2 separate regions of the Homo sapiens genome follow, and region 1 is linked to region 2. Evidence: promoter capture Hi-C in 16 types of primary human blood cells and fetal thymus (Javierre and others, 2016). All regions are on one chromosome and are shown on one strand. Each heading gives the region's core, a stretch centred on a gene start or on the middle of the fragment in contact. The rest is flanking DNA. Distances are from core to core; before and after follow the strand shown. Region 1 has its middle 7.5 kb from the start of APOBEC3B-AS1. Region 2 holds the start of CBX6 (chromobox 6).

The links. Contacts are between HindIII fragments. The CHiCAGO score rates a contact against its expected background, and 5 or more counts as called.
Region 1: a contact is called between a fragment that was not itself captured here and the fragment with the promoter of CBX6 in region 2, in 1 of 17 cell types (M0 macrophages). The highest score is 5.4, in M0 macrophages.

The regions. Positions count from the first base shown.
Region 1 is chr22:39,004,355-39,007,054 of GRCh38, forward strand. No RefSeq gene overlaps it. Among named protein-coding and RNA genes, the nearest start is that of APOBEC3B-AS1, 7.5 kb to the left of the region's middle. The HindIII fragment of the contact is 326 bases long and covers 1,199-1,524 here.
Region 2 is chr22:38,870,964-38,873,711 of GRCh38, forward strand. It overlaps CBX6 (chromobox 6), which reads right to left and starts at 1,253. Exons shown (of 5, transcript NM_014292.5): 1 at 1,159-1,253; 2 at 939-982; 3 at 729-794; 4 at 517-583. The coding sequence starts at 1,227. RefSeq lists silencers at 875-924, 1,025-1,174, 1,205-1,464 and enhancers at 1,459-2,009, 2,010-2,559, 2,396-2,748. The HindIII fragment of the contact is 16,779 bases long and covers 1-2,184 here.

The DNA of each region.
Region 1 (2,700 bases), core at 112-2,611, 130 kb after region 2:
AATTTAATTAATTAAAAATTTAAAAATTAAAAAAATGTTTAAAAAGCATTATTCTCTGCTGGGTTCGGTGGCTCACACCTGTAATCCCAGCACTCTGGGAGGCCAAGATGGGCATATCACTTGAGGTCAGGAGTTGGAGACCAGCCTGGCCAACATGGTGAATCTCCGTCTCTACTAAAAATACAAAGATTAGCCGGGCGTGGTGGCAGCTGCCTCTAATCCCAGCTACTCGGGAGGCTGAGACAGGAGAATCGCTTGAGCCCAGGAGTGGGAGGTTGCAGTGAGCCGAGATCGTGCCATTGCACTCCAGCCTGGGTGACAACAATGAAACTCTGTCTCAAAAAAAAAAAAAAAGAAAAAAGCATTATTCTCCTACATCTCTCCAAAATTACTTAAAATATTTTAAGGGACAAATGGATATCGATTTCCAATGAGTTCAGGGTAGGCTGTGCTGCTAGACACGGTGGTGTCCGTATTTGAGCTCGATTCCCGTTCTTGCTAGGGTAGCACGTTATCGCTCCTAAATCATTCACGCGTTAAAGACAAAATCATAGTGTGAATTAGGCACACTTAGAACTCAATGATCTTTTTTTCTTTTTTTTGAGGCGGAGTCTCGCTCTGTTGCCCAGGCTGAAGTGCAGTGGCACGATCTCGGCTCACTGCAACCTCCGCCTCCTGGATTCAAGCAATTCTCCTGCCTCAGCCTCCAGAGTAGTGCTCTAGCAAATTAACTGAACCCAAAGAATGGGTCATGGGAACCTCAACTTGAAGCCTGTTGGTCAGACACTCCAGATGTCTGAGCTTTCTACTGGTGTCTAAAGCAGGGGCAGTTTTGGGGACTGGGCCCTCAACCTGTGAGATCTGACACCATCTCAAGGCAATGTTGGATGTGACTGAGAGGACACCTGGCTGGTGCCTGCTGAAGAATGGATTGCTTGTTTGTTGGTGGGAAGAAATCCCCCACATTTGGTCACAGAAGTCTTCTGTGTTGACTGTTGTTGTGTTGGTGCGAGAGCAGAGGAAAAACACGGCTTGAGTTTGTGTGTTTTTCTACACACTCAGTTTCCCAAGCCCTCTTAATTCCCAGCCGTTGCTTGTTGCCTGTTGCTGGGGTCTCCCGGCCAAAGCTGAATGCCTCTTCACAAGACCTTGTCGTGAGTCTTTCTGTGGTGTATCTGTCTGACCCTCACCCATCTGAAGCTTTCTGTAGGATGTTAGGTACATAATCTCTCTTTGACCATGGTTTTAACTCCCGGCCACCAATTCCAGGGCAGATGGAAAAGTCGTGCTTGGCCTTCTAGCACACTTACATAAATATTCCATAAAAGTAAGAATCACCAAAACTGACACAAAATGGAGAAAAATCACTCAGTTAGGTCGATCATCAATGAGGACACTGAAAAGGTAACCAATCCTCACCTAACCTCAGGCCTTGATGGTTTTACTGGCAATTTCTACCAAATTGTCAATGAACAGATCATTCCACATTACAGAGACTATTCCAGAGAAAAGAAAATGATGGGAAGCTTCCCAAATCATGACCGAGGTTTATCACAACCCTGATGCTACAACTGGGCAAAAATAGAAAACAATTTTTTAAAAACTATAATTCATGAGTAATTTCAGTCAATGAGACACAGCAGCCCAGGAACTGAAGAGTCCCTGACTAAAAAGGCATTAAATCTGGCCGGGTGCGGTGGCTCATGCCTGTAATCCCAGCACTTTGGGAGGCTGAGGCAGGCATATCACCTGAGGTCAGGAGTTCAAGACCAGCCTGGCCAACATGGTGAAACACTCCTCTCTACTAAAGATACAAAAATTGGCCGAGCGCGGTGTCTCATGCCTGTAATCCCAGCACTTTGGGAGGCCGAGGTCGGCAGATCACCTGAAGTCAGGAGTTCGAGACCAGCCTGGCCAACATGGTGAAACCTCATGTCAACTAAAGATACAAAAAATTAGCTGGGTGTGGTGGCATGTGCCTGTAATCCCAGCTACTAGGGAGGCTGGGGCAGGAGAATCTGTTAAACCTGGGAGGTGGAGGTTGCAGTGAGCCGAGATCACACCATTGCACTCCAGCCTGGGTGACAGGGCGAGACTCCATCTCAAAAAACAAAAACAAAAACAAAAAACAAAAATTAGCCAGGTGTGTTGGCACGCACCTGTAATCCCAGCTACTCAGGAGGTTGAGGCAGGAGAATCACTTGAACCCAGGAGGCAGAGGTTGCAGTGAGCTGAGATCGTGCCACTGAACTGCAGCCTGGGTGATGGAGCGAGACTCAGTCTCAAGAAAAAAAAAAAAAACAGAAAGGTATTTAATCTGCAGGCCCCAGAGCTGATGGCTTCCCGGAGCTGGGCAGGTCCACACTCCCTCAGCCTCAGGACCAAGTGTCCGTGTGCGTGAGTGACAAGGGGCCTCAGAAGCTACACGTGGGAGTCCTGAGACTTCCGCTCTGTGCTGTTACACACGTTGTCCCACCTGTCCTGTATCTTTTCTTAAAGCCAAGGAAATGCATACTGGGTGAAGCCTATCACGTCTCTTTTGATAGTCAATCCAAATCACAAGCCACTACTACTTGTCAAACAGAATGATATTGCAACTATATCAATAGATTAAAGGAGAAAAACCACATGACCATCTCAATCATAAAAAACAGAAAGCATATGCTATTAAAATAGCATCTTAGGACCAGGCACTAATCC
Region 2 (2,748 bases), core at 3-2,502:
TGAGGTCAAATTCAAGTTGGATCCCCAAGAAAGGAGGGGAGCCATGAAGAACAAATCCTGAAAGACTGAACGGGGGAAGCTGGGGGCAGGGAGGCAGGTGGTCCCCCAAATCCTCTCCTTGTGCCCTGCCAGGAGGTGGGACCCCACTCACTCTCCCCCTGGGTTCCAACTCCCAGCACAGTCATAACAGCTCAAACAAATGCCCCCTTCCCATGGGCATCCCCCACCTGCCTCAGCCACCCCCTTTCCTGGAGCCCTAAAGGCATCCCCAGCCCCTGGTTTCAACAGGGAGGATTATCCCCAGTCCCAAAACCCTCTTGTTGAAGCTGATGCTGGCTGAGGCCTGCCATCAGGGGCTTCTGGGGGGGCTCACAACCACCCCCTGCCCAGCTGGGGCCCCTCTGAAAAGGCCGGCCCGCTTGGGCGGCCGCGTATCTGTCCCTCCCTTCCAGGCCCCGTGCTGTGCCGGGGCTGGGGGCCCGAGAGGGGGATGCTGCTGGGGCTGGGCCAGGTTACCTTCAGGAGGAAAGTTTTGGGTTTGGGTCCCCTCTTCTTGGGCCCATACAGCTCACGCTCCCTCTCCCTGCGGCCGAAAAACACCAGAGGTTAAAAAGAGCCCCTTCCCGGGCCCCACTCCGCGCTGCCCTCCCCGGCTCTCCCGCTTCCCCGCGCGGCGCCCCAGCCGAGCCTCGGCCTCGCAGCCCCTGCCAGCTTCCCCAACAACTCACTTTTGTTCGAAGGCTGCAATGAGCCGCGAGTCCAGGATGTTCTCCTCGGGCTCCCAAGTGCTGTACCTGCCGAGTCACAAACGCACAAAATCAGGATGAAGACCAGAGAGGGACAGGCACGCGGCGAGAGCAAGAGCGCGCACCCCCACCCCAGGCCCCGGTGCCCGCTGCCTCCCCTCCCGCGACGCCCCCGGACCCCGCGACACTCACTTGATCGCCCACCCCTTCCATTTCACCAGGTACTCGATGCGTCCCTGAAAAACAGAGGGGAGAAAAACGGGGGTGGGGGTGGGGAGGATGCGGGGACGCGAGGAGGCGGCGGCGCGGGGCTGGGCGAGGGAGCCGGGCTAGCGGGACCGCTTCGCCCCGAGGGCCCCCGGCCCCGGCCCCGGCTGCGGACAGCGGCGGCCCGCCCCGGGCGGCGGCTCACCTTTCGGATCCGCCGTTTGATGATGGATTCGGCCGCGAAGACCCGCTCGCCCACTGCAGACAGCTCCATCTTGCTCAGCGGCACCCACAGCCCATAATACTCCCTGCGCCCGCGGCCGGTGCGGCACCGCTCGCGCACGCGCCGCAGCGCCCAGGCCCCGGCGGGCGGGAGCGCGGCGGGGCGCGCGCTCGCGTTCCAGCTGCGGGCCGTCACGTGATCCTCGCGGCTGGCGCGCGGTTGCCAGGACCTCCCCCTCCCCCGGGGCGGTTGCTAGGGAAAGTCGGCGCTCGCGGGGCGGGGGCGCGCGCTGGCTCTTAAAGGGGCCGCGCGGGCGGAGGGAGCAATTGCCGGCCGACCCGATGGGTGCCCGGCTTGTGGGCACGCTGCGGCCTTACGCTTATCACCCCCCCTCACATCTTGCCGGCGCCCGATCGCTGACACCCTCTCCTTGCCTCTTAATCCCCACGCGAGTCTCGCCAGGCCCCGGGCGGAGAAGGGCTGTGGAGCCCGAGTCTCGCCGCCACCGCGCATCTCCCGCAGCAGCCTGCAAACAGTTAAATATGATGCAGCAGAAATGCAGTTGCTGTTGCCTTGCCAGGCCTTGCGGGAATTTCTTTAAAACATCGCCCCCCACCCATTATTTATGTATTCGTGGGAGGGTGGTTTTGTAACCAGTTCAGAAGAGTTAAAACAAAAACGCCACCGCAGGAAGGGGGTGTGCGGCGAATGGGGCCGAGGAAGGCCGGAGTGACCGTGGGCATCTGTCTGCGGCCGGGGTCTCGGGCGGCACCTGTCCTCGCCCAGGAGACCGGGGAGGATTCGGCGGGGCCGGTGTGGCAGTGGGGGAGGGAGAGGGACCGCGGGCAGGAACGGGCTCCCCGCACTCCGCCTTGGGCCCACAGCGGGTCATCATCTGGTCATTCGGCAGAAACCGCCTTCGCGGTCATATCTGTGTTTTCCGATTCCCAGCACCCCTCCCGGCCCCCCGACCTGGCCGCGTCCCTCTCCCCGCCCGCAGCTGCGCGAAGCTTCCGCCATTGCTCTGGGGAGCCCAGATCCCAGCTTCCCACTTGAGGAGGGGCGGGGGATCGAGCTGGGGCTGTCCAGGAACGGACACACAAAAAATAGCCCTGCCGCGCAAAACGCTCCACTTTTTAAATGTTGAAATTACTTGAACTTTATTTCCCATTATGTTAGTAGTCTTGTTCTTTGTAAAACAATTTTAAAAATACAGATAAAACAACTGTCCATAACCCCCATAAAACCATTGTTAACATCTTCACCAATCTTCCAGCCTCTGCTCTATGCGTACATAAACTCACGTACACCTATGTATGTATGTATATACATACACATACACATTGTCTGTAGATTTAATTTTTTAACAAAATGGGATCACGCTATTCACACTGTTCTGGAATCTGCTTTTCTCCCTTAATGCTATAAAGTGGACATCTTTCAGTGTCATTAAATACAGATTTCACCATCCTTCCAGTGACCACCTTGGGGCTGAGATGGGGTGGGGAGGAATGGGGATTGTGAAGAGTCAGGGTTGTGTCTTGCGAACATCAATGGCTCATTAGGAAAGAT